Linked DNA regions of Homo sapiens: regions 2 and 3 are each linked to region 1. Evidence: promoter capture Hi-C in 16 types of primary human blood cells and fetal thymus (Javierre and others, 2016). All regions are on one chromosome and are shown on one strand. Each heading gives the region's core, a stretch centred on a gene start or on the middle of the fragment in contact. The rest is flanking DNA. Distances are from core to core; before and after follow the strand shown.

What was found. The method cuts DNA at HindIII sites, captures the fragments that hold promoters and counts their contacts. A CHiCAGO score of 5 or more calls a contact.
Region 2: a contact is called between a fragment that was not itself captured here and the fragment with the promoter of RLF in region 1, in 17 of 17 cell types (total B cells, naive CD4 T cells, total CD8 T cells and 14 more). The highest score is 17.0, in total B cells.
Region 3: a fragment that was not itself captured here is called in contact with the fragment with the promoter of RLF in region 1 in 2 of 17 cell types (total CD8 T cells and naive CD8 T cells); the score reaches 5.5 in total CD8 T cells.

What each region holds. Positions count from the first base shown.
Region 1 is chr1:40,159,158-40,162,670 of GRCh38, forward strand. It overlaps RLF (RLF zinc finger), which reads left to right and starts at 2,230. Exons shown (of 8, transcript NM_012421.4): 1 at 2,230-2,479. The coding sequence starts at 2,243. It overlaps LOC105378671 (a long non-coding RNA gene), which reads right to left and starts at 2,121. Exons shown (of 3, transcript XR_947232.3): 1 at 1,808-2,121. RefSeq lists a silencer at 692-893 and enhancers at 1,902-2,518, 2,006-2,515, 2,519-3,134. The HindIII fragment of the contact is 5,693 bases long and covers 1-3,513 here.
Region 2 is chr1:40,417,380-40,420,679 of GRCh38, forward strand. All of the region lies in intron 9 of SMAP2 (small ArfGAP2), which reads left to right. Among named protein-coding and RNA genes, the nearest start is that of ZFP69B-DT, 31 kb to the right of the region's middle. The HindIII fragment of the contact is 254 bases long and covers 1,533-1,786 here.
Region 3 is chr1:40,510,412-40,513,853 of GRCh38, forward strand. All of the region lies in intron 3 of EXO5 (exonuclease 5), which reads left to right. Among named protein-coding and RNA genes, the nearest start is that of EXO5, 3.4 kb to the left of the region's middle. The HindIII fragment of the contact is 4,712 bases long and covers 1-3,442 here.

The sequences.
Region 1 (3,513 bases), core at 980-3,479:
AAGTTCCATTTTCCTATTTCCTATACTAATTAAAAATTCCTGTCAATCTAATGGATATGAAATTGTTGTTTTACTTGTACTTTGATAGTTACAGCAAAATTATATATTTTTTCTTGGGTTTATTGGCCATTCAGTTTTCTTTTTTGGTGAACTGCCTTTTTACCTACTTTTCTTTCTCTCTCTCTTTTTTTTTTTTTTTTTAGTGTCCCTCAGGCTAGAATGCAGTGATGCCACCTTGGGTCACTGCACCACAGCTTTGATTTCCAGAGCTCAAGCGATCCTCCCACCTCAGCCTCCTAAGTAGCTGGGACTAGAGGCGCATGCCACCACGCCTGGCTAATTTTGTTTTCATTTTTTGTAGACACAAGATCTCATTATGTTGCCCAGGCTGGTCTCGAACTCCTGAACTCAAGCAATCCTCCGGCCTTGGGCTCCCAAGTACTGAGATTACAGGCATGAGCCAAAACGTCCAGCTTTTTAATTTACTTTTCTATTGGGTTGTTTGCCTTTTTCGATTTTGGGAACTATTTGTTTGTTTGTTTGTTTGTTTTTTGAGACGGAGTCTTGCTCTGTCACCCAGGCTGGAATGCAGTGGCGCGATCTCGGCTCACTGCAACCCCTGCCTCTCAGGTTCACGCCATTCTCCTGCCTCAGCCTCCCGAGTAGCTGGGACTACAGGCGCCCGCCACCACGCCCGGCTAATTTTTTGTATTTTTAGTAGAGACAGGGTTTCACCGTGTTAGCCAGGATAGTCCTGATCTCCTGACCTCGTGATCTGCCCGCCTCGGCCTCCCAAAGTGCTGGGATTACAGGCGTGAGCCACCTCGCCCAGCCCGGGAACTGTTTTGGATACTAATCAAAACAATGGTTATGGCTGGGCGCGGTGGCTCACGCCTGTAATCCCAGCACTTTGGAAGGCCAAGGCGGGCGGATCACTTGAGGCCAGGAGTTCGAGATCAGCCTGGCCAACACAGTGAAACCCCGCCTCTACTAAAAATACAAACATTAGCCAGGCATGGTGGCGGACGCTTATAGTGCCAGCTACTTTGGGAGGCTGAAGCACGAGAATCACTTAAACCTGAGAGGCAGAGGTTGCAGTGAGCCTAGATCGTGCCACTGCACTCCAGGCTGGGTGACAGAGTGAGACCCTGTCTCAAAAAACAACAACAATAAACAATGGTTATATATATGGGGAATATCATTTAGTCTGTGGCTTGTCTTTGTGTGCTTTTTCAACTTGTTATACGGAAGTAACACATTTTAATACAGTCAAATCTAAATATTTTCCCTTATGGTTTGTGCTTTTCCGGTCTTATTAAGAAATTCTTAGCCGGGCGCGGTGGCTCACGCCTCTAATCCCAGCACTTTGGGAGGCTGAGGCGGGCGGATCACCTGAGGTCAGGAGTTCGAGACCAGCCTGACCAACATGGAGAAACCCCATCTCTACTAAAAATACAAAATTAGCCAGGTATGGTGGCGCATGCATGTAATCCCAGCTGCTCCGGAAGCTGAGGCAGGAGAATGTTTGAACCAAGGAGGCGGAGGTTGCGGTGAGCTGAGATAGCACTGTTGCACTCCAGCCTGGGCAACAAGGGTGAGACTCCGTCTAAAAAAAAAAAAAAAAATTCTTCCCTATTTTTGACATTATAAAGCTATTTTTATTTTCTGAAAAATGTTTGCAGGTCTTTAATCCATCTCGGCCTTATTTTTGGAAATGGTTTGAGGTAGAAATCTAATCATTTATTTCCCTTTTGGAAAAAATGTCTCATCGCCATTTATTGAAGAGTCTGTCCTTTCGCCCACTGACTTGTAATGCCGTCTGTATCATAAACCAAGTTCCCTTGATGTTACTCTTCATTTCGGCCTCACAATCTTTGCTTATTTTCCTTCTACCAGGGATGCTTTTCGCTATGTTCCTTTCAGGGCTACCTTCCTCTTGTCCCTTCAGATCGCAGTTCAAATGTCATCCCCCTCAAATCTAGATTGCTCTACAGGCATTTCTGGCTCCGTGATCCCATGACCTCAAAGGGGTCTAGGTGGGCATAGCCTCTAGCCAGTTGTTGCTAGGCTGTTGTCAGGACTGGCGATGCGTAGGCCACTGAGAGCACCCGGAGTCCGAGTGACGGAATCAGGCGGGCGCCCGCGTCGCTAAGGAGTGCGTCACAGTGCGCGGGCGGCCGGGGGCAGGGCCAGGGCTGAGTCACGTGGCTTGGTTGCCTACGCGCTGGTGGGCCGTGGGAAGATGGCGGACGGAAAGGGAGACGCCGCCGCTGTCGCCGGGGCTGGGGCTGAGGCTCCGGCGGTAGCGGGAGCCGGAGATGGAGTCGAGACTGAGTCCATGGTTCGGGGTCATCGCCCCGTATCTCCAGCGCCGGGAGCCTCGGGACTGCGGCCGTGTCTGTGGCAGCTGGAGACAGAGCTGAGGGAGCAAGAGGTGTCGGAGGTCTCATCTTTGAACTACTGCCGGAGCTTCTGCCAGGTGAGGGGCTGACTGGCTGGCTGAGGGCGGCGGGGCGGGGAAGTCAGGGAAGGAGGCCCTGGATCCTCTGTAAGCAGCCGGGTCCAAACTGAAAGGCGCCACCTCCGTGACTCGCCGCGCCCCCGGGCCGGGAAGGCCCAGCTCGGAAGCTCGACCGCTGGCCCCCCTGCGCCACTGCCCGACTTTGGCCACCGCTGGGTCGTTTTGCTCTGAGCCTTACTGAGATCCCGGAGGGCCCTGGCGGGTCCCTGGAAGGGCTGTGCCCTGTCGCCGTTGCCTGTGTCCTGGCCGGGTGGTTGGAGCGCCACTGCCCCCTGAGGGATTGATTGCTTGTCCCTGCCGGGAGATCCTTTTTTGAGTGGAGTGCAGATCTCCGAACTGGTAAACCCGGGTTTTTCTGAATAATCCAGAGAGGTGTGTTGGGGCCAGAGACTTATTTTTGGAGTTAACATCTTCTGGGCTCCTAAAAGGTATGACAGTTGGCTTCGAAAGGCGTCTAGAGCTTTCTGATTAGGGATTGCGGAGCCGGTTGGTTGTTTGGTTTTTGCTTTTTTTTTTTTTACGTTTAAGCCGTTCTTTCGTCTTTTCTGTATTTCTTTGAGAGGATTGTGCTACCGAGAATAAGGCTGACTCTTTGAGTAGAAGAGGATGGGAAGAGGGATGTAGAGTGTGGCCTCTTTTGGCAGTCGTATGATCATTTCTGTGCCTTGGTGGGTCCTAACCTATGATTACATATTTATGGGTGTGTTTAGTTTAGTCTCCATGACCACTCCGAGATTTTTCTGTATGTTTTCAAGTCTTTTACAAATACAAATATTGGCCATTATTATTTCTGCTTCCAATGTTTGTTCTGTCAGGTTTCAGAGGCACCCATCAGCTCCTTATCTGTTGTACCTTAGAAAATGCAAAATAATCGTGGCATGTTGGTACTTGGAGTCTAATAAGTAGTCCAGTATGCTGAATAAATTGCGGCGTTCTAAAATAATAATTTTGGGGGGCAATTTGCTCTGTTGGTCCGGAGTAGAATAAAAGTT
Region 2 (3,300 bases), core at 410-2,909, 260 kb after region 1:
AACAATGAATGCAGATATTCTCACAACAATCTCATTTGGTAGACAGAATACTGCAAGGTTCAAATGGCATGGCAATGGGCATATAAACACCAAATCCAGCGGAGCCAGCATCACAGAGGAGACTGTAAAAAGAGAAGATGGAGCAGGGGCCTAGCAATAATACCACAGATAAAGTAACCCCCCAGAAGGAGAAGGACCTACCCTCATCAAAGACATACTGAGAACAGGTCTGAGATGTGGTAGATTAGAACTCTGTTTACTTGGAGGATCAAAAATAAGAGACTTCAGATATATAGGAGTATAGGTAGTAACCTTGGGAAAGCATTGCTTCTCGGGGAGATGGGCATGGCCTAAAAGGAGGAGGTACCCTTTAGAGGACTGGTGGTGAAGGAAAGAAAGACACGAGAAATGGGAATGAGAATCACAAAATCAAATATACACCTTCTTCCCTCTTCCAAAATAACCACTTCACTAATAAAAGATGGTGCTCTTAATCTAAGAAATTTAGTAAGCCTCCCCAAACCTTCACACCTATTATTGCTGATTGAGAAAAAATAAGACCTTACAAAAATGAACCAAACATGGAAGCTGACATTTGTACACAACTACTACAGGAAGAAAATAGAAAATGAAAATCAAAACATTTCACGTAATGAATATTCTCCCTCAAAAAACAGTCATGAAGCAGAAGAAAATTGTTACACAATCTACCAATCTGAATTAAATGTCCTTAAACATTTGCAGATAAGACAAAACACCTTAAATCAGAAATTCAAAAACTTAAAGCCAAAATGGATAAAAAACTGCATGCTGTGAAATGAAAGTTTACTAAACTCAGAAAAGAAATTGAAGAAAAAGCCAAAATTTTCGTATAAAGACTCAATTACAAGTTAGCTAAAGAACAATAGATTGAGCTGAAAATATATTCGGCATTGAGGAAAGGCATGAAACAGCTAAGAGAATGAAAACTAAATATAGAAAGTAGTAAAAAGAATTAGATGGAAATTAATATGGAAGTTAGGCAAAGAAAACTTACATATATTTGGAGATGCCCAAAGAAATAAAGACAAAATAAATAAAATATGGGACAGTATTAATGTGTTTAACACCAGAAAACATTCTAGAAATAAAAGACTTGGATATAATATGGAAAGAGCCCACTGTGTGTCTGGGAAAATTGACCCAGAACAGTCAACTTTAAAACATATCCCAGCAAATCTACAGACTTTAAAGAACATTCAAAATGTTTAGGGGTCCAACCTTTTCCATACCTCCTACCCACAAAAATCTGTTACTTAGAACAAACAAAAAATACCCAGGTTGACATCAGACTTCCTAGCAGCAAAATACAAAAAGAATAACAAGGAGAGTAGTATTTTAAAGACACTCAAGTGTATGCAAGACACAACAAGTATTTTACAACCAAGCCAGCCAAGCTATCCTTCAGGTATCAAGGCTGTAAAAAATAAATATGCAAGAACTCAGAGAATATCACACTTACAAGACTTTCCTGGGGAATCTAACAGAAGATAAGCTTCATCCACCTAAGAGATGACTGGGGTCATTTTCATTTTTGGCAAAAGAACTGATGGTGAGAATTGAATGTTTAATTGAGAATCTAAGACTAAAACAAAGGTGGTGACAAGCGTTGCAGAATATACATTATATTCTGACAAACAAATACAACTGAAAATGAAGGAGGAGGGAGAAAAGTTGAATAATAAATATTGTATGGGAAAGAAGTAGAAATCGAAGGATGCAATAAGCTGACAAACCAAATCACGGAAGCTTGAATAAGGAAAAAGGAGACCAAGGACATTGCTAAAAAGTATTACTATGAAGGTAATCACTAGAACAAACACGTGAAATGTTCTGAATACCAAGATAATTTTCTTCCTTTCTTTTTTTTTTTTTTTTTTGAGACAAAGTCTCACTCTGTCACCCAGGCTGGAATGCAGTGGCACAATCTCGGCTCACTGCAACCTCCGCCTCCTGGGTTCAAGTGATTCTTCTGCGTCAGCCTCCCGAGTAGCTGGGATTACAGGCACCCGCCACCACACCCGGTTAATTTTTTTTGTATTTTTTAGTAGAGACGGGGTTTCACCATGTTGGCCAGGCTAGTCTCAAACTCCTGACCTCAGGTGATCCACCCACCTTGGCCTCCCAAAGTGCTGGGATTACAGGCATGAGCCACTGCGCCCAGCTGAGAATTTTTAAAAACAGACTACAAAGTGCAGCAAATACAATAAACACAGTAAAAATCTAATATGATGGAGTTGAGACCAAACATACCAGTCATACCAGTAGGCAACTCTTCTATCAAAAGAAAATGATGTTCAAATTGGCTAACAAAGCAACACTAGTTTTGCACTAGGTACAAAGAAATACAAAGTGATTTAATGTGAAAACCAAGAGACAGGCAAAGGAACCCCAGAGAGGTGGTATGGTGCATGTGTACTGCACATGTGCATGTATAGCTATCTTTATCAGGGTTATACTTATTTATAAGAAGTACTTTTATGTTTTTGTTTCTCTGTGGTCCAGAATAATTTATGTAGCTCTGGTCTTTGAAGGTTTTGTGGAATTCCCATGTGAAGTTTGTGGGCACTATTGCTTTTTTTGTAGCAAATCTTTGATACTTTTCTCTGTTTCTTCTATGGAAGTCAATTTTGGAAAACTGTATTTACCTAGATTTTCCATTTCGCCAAGGTTTTCAAATTTATCAAAAGTTATGCCTAGCAGTCTCATTAATTTTTTTCAAAGAACCAGGATTTCGATTTATTGGTGCTACATTTTTCCGTTTTCTACCTCAATTTCCGTAGGCTTTCTATGGGTTTACTTTGTTATTTTCTAGCTTTCATAGTGGAGATTTTAATTCACTTATTTTCATTGTTTCGTTTTTATTTATATAAGTAATGGAATGCTATAAGTCTGATGGGAATATGTCAGAGGGACGCATGAGCCAACTTCCAGTGGCTCTGACTGGCCAAATGTGAGACAATTTGAACATCAAAAAGAGTAACAACAGTAATGGATTATGACACACTGAATGGAAAAAACAAAACAAAACCATGAGTCCACGGTGATATTTTTTAAAAACCAGGTGTGGAATGGAGGGAGGAAAAGCCTTCTTTACAGAAGAATGACAGTAGTTGTAAAAAGAGCAAAGGATTGACACATTTGCAAAGAAATGCCCTTCAGATTATTTATTAATTATAATGAAAGAAATATAGTCACTACCTCAGCCAAGTGATCAAACATAAAATTACTGACAGAGGAACAAAGTAATGTCATATGCTT
Region 3 (3,442 bases), core at 702-3,201, 350 kb after region 1:
AAGTCCCAGACACATCTGAGCATCAGTCATCCATCCCTAGTGTACTGTTTTATTCTTATAGATGAATACTTTCACAGAGAATGCCCTGCTTTGTATCTTCTCCAAAAGACATTTCACTTCCCTGTTTAGAACTACCTGTTCTCAATGTTGTATGTAAAACAAGTAGGAACTCCATACATTTCAGGAGCTTCCTCTCTCTTTGGGGAGTTAATGTGTACACAGGAAATAGTCTAACTCTATGCTGTTCAGTAGAGCTTTCTGTGATCAGGGAATGTTCTGTATCTGTGCCTTATCTGTATCCACCAGCCAGATGTAGCTACTGAGCACTTAATATATGGCTAGTGCAACTGAGATGTGAATTTTATTTTATTTTAATTAAATTTAAGTAGCCACATATGGCTAGTGGCTACTAATGGCTACCATATTGGACAGCCAGGTCTAGATATTTGAAATAAAATATTTTAAGGTTATTGATTTGGACTTGGAGTTCCCCCTCACCCTCACAAATACCTCATAGCATATGTGTTATAAATGCCCTTTAGGGCTGGGTGCGGTGGCTCACGCCTGTAATCACAGCACTTTGGGAGGCCGAGGCGGGTGCATCACGAGGTCAGGAGATCGAGACCATCCTGGCTAACACGATGAAACCCCGTCTCTACTAAAAAATACAAAAATTAGCTGGGCGCGGTGGCGGGTGCCTGTAGTCCCAGCTACTCGGGAGGCTGAGGCAGGAGAATGGCGTGAACCCGGGAGGCAGAGCTTGCAGTGAGCTGAGATCCCGCCACTGCACTCCAGCCTGGGTGAAAGAGTGAGACTCTGTCTCAAAAAATAAAATAAAAGAAAAGAAAAAATAAATGCCCTTTAACTTTAGTTTCTTGGTGAAGGGTAAATATTCTTTCCAATTTTCAGAGACTTCATAGTTGAAATAAAGTTTCTTGAAATTATTTAAAGCACATTGACAGTTTATAACACTTGTGTAAATGCACAGCTTCTGTATTTTGTTACTATTGAAATATCCTGTAAAGCAATAATGTTGTAGGATACTCTATAAGCAAAAGTCTTACTATTGTATTATTTTTATTCATTGCAGATAACTTTTCTTCTAGCTATCTATGTTTTCTTTCATTAGTGACATTTAGACTATTTAAAAATCAGTTAAACACAACCACAACTGATATTAATGACGTTTTCAGGGCATCACTTCTTACGCTTTGACATAGGAGTTGGTGCATTCACCTTATTTCACTGCTTATTAGAATAGCAAGAAGGGGACATTTGGTTCATAGCTATCTCTATCAGCTAAAATTCTATGTCAAATTATTTATTTTCCTGGCACTCAAAGTCAAACACTAATGGACTGGTTGTATCTTGTTTTGCTTACTCTCTATGCAGGTTAGATATGTGGGGTTAGAAGGAAGGCTTAAAAAGAGTATCTTCATAAGATAATTTGCCTAGTTTCTTTTTTCTTTTTTCTTTTTTTTTTTTGAGACGGAGTCTCGCTCTGTTGCCCAGGCTGGAGCACAGTGGTGGGATCTCAGCTCACTGCACGCTCCGCCTCCTGGGTTCACGCCATTCTCCTGCCTCAGCCTCCCAAGTAGCTCGGACTACAGGCACCCACCACCAAGCCCGGCTAATTTTTTGTACTTTTAGTAGAGACAGGTTTCACCGTGTTAGTCAGGATGGTCTCGATCTCCTGACCTCATGATCCGCCCGCCTTGGCCTCCCAAAGTGCTGGGATTACAGGCGTGAACCACTGCGCTTGGCCGCCCAGTTTCTTAAGATTAAAAAATACTTGAAAGACAAAACAATCAAACATAATGTGTGGTCTTTGTTTCCTGGATTAAAGAAAAGCTATCTAGGACATTTTGAGGACAGTTGGGGAAATTTATATATGAACTGGAATGTTAAGGAATTACTAATTTTGTCAGATGTGATAATGTAGTTATGAGGAGAATGTCATTTGGAAGACAGTATTGTGGTTATGAAGAAGAATGCCATTTGGAAATTATGCTGAAACATTTAGATTTTAAAGTTTTATGCTATCTGTAATTTACTTTAAAATAGTTCAGCCAAAACAAAAAAGTACACACACAAGAAGTAAATACAGCAAAATGTCAACAGTTGTTCATCTACATGGTGTGGACATGGGTGTTTGTTGTTTTATTCTTTCTACTTCTCTGTATGTTTGAAAATTTTCTTTTTCTTTTGAGATGGAGTCTTCACTCTGTCACCCAGGCTGGAGTGCAGTGGTGTTATCTCAGCTCACTGCAACCTCCACTTCCTAGGTTCAAGCGATTTTCCTGCCTCAGCCTCCCGAGTAGCTAGGATTACAGGTGCCCGCCACCACACCCGGCTAATTTTTTGTATTTTTAGTTTCACCATGAGGTGTATTTTTAGTTTCACCATGCTGGCCAGGCTGGTCTCAAACTCCCGACCCCAGGTGATCCACCTGCCTCGGCCTCCCAAAGTGCCGAGATTACAGGCTTTAGCCACTGTACCCGGCCTTGAAAATCTTTATAGTAAAAAGTTGAAAGAAAAAAGGAGTACAGTACCCATCCCCATCCCACAGTAGGGTAGTGAGATATTGGATGTAAAACACGTGGCTCAGTGTCTGGCACACAAAAAATAACCGCACAATAAATATTCTCTATTATAGCAGTAAATTTTGAGTTTTTAATAATGCTGTAATAGGCAGATTTTTTTCCCATTATAAGCTAGTTTCTTGTGGAGGGAGAAAATAAACTTAATGGGAAACTCCAGTTTAGTGACAGACACCAATTTCTATAATATTAAGAGGATAATTTATGAAGTCAAGCTACTAATTTCCATGTGTCGCTGTAACATCCTCTTATTATTTCATGCATTAATTTGTGTTAGACTATATTTATTTGTATCTATATATAGTTGATCTTTGAATTTTGCCATACTAGGTTCCTTGAACTGCATTTAAAAACAGTTATTGCAGAGCTCCTTTTTCTCAAGGAACAGTTTGTAGTTGAGATTCATTTTGCTCGTCAAGGACTTTGTATAAAGGAAATTGTAGAAAGTGGCCCATGGTAAACTTCTCAAACATTGTTCCTACATTTACAAAGATGTATATTCACTTAAAATAATGAAATACTCTTTCAAGTCAATAGAATTTTGAAGCAGAAAAGGCAAACCTCAAATCTCCTTTTTTTTTTTTTTTCTTTTTCTTGAGACAGAGTCTTGCTCTGTCACCCAGGCTGGAGTGCAGTGGTGCAGTCTCGGCTCACTGCAACTTCCATCTCCCTGTTCAAGCAATTCTGCTGCCTCAGCCTCCTGAGTAGCTGGGAATACAGGTGTGTGCCACCATACCTGGCTAATTTTTGTATTTTTAGTAGAGATGGGGTTTCACCATGTTAGCCAGGCTGGTCTTGAACTCCTGACCTCAAGTGATCTGCCCACCTCAGCCTCCCAAAGT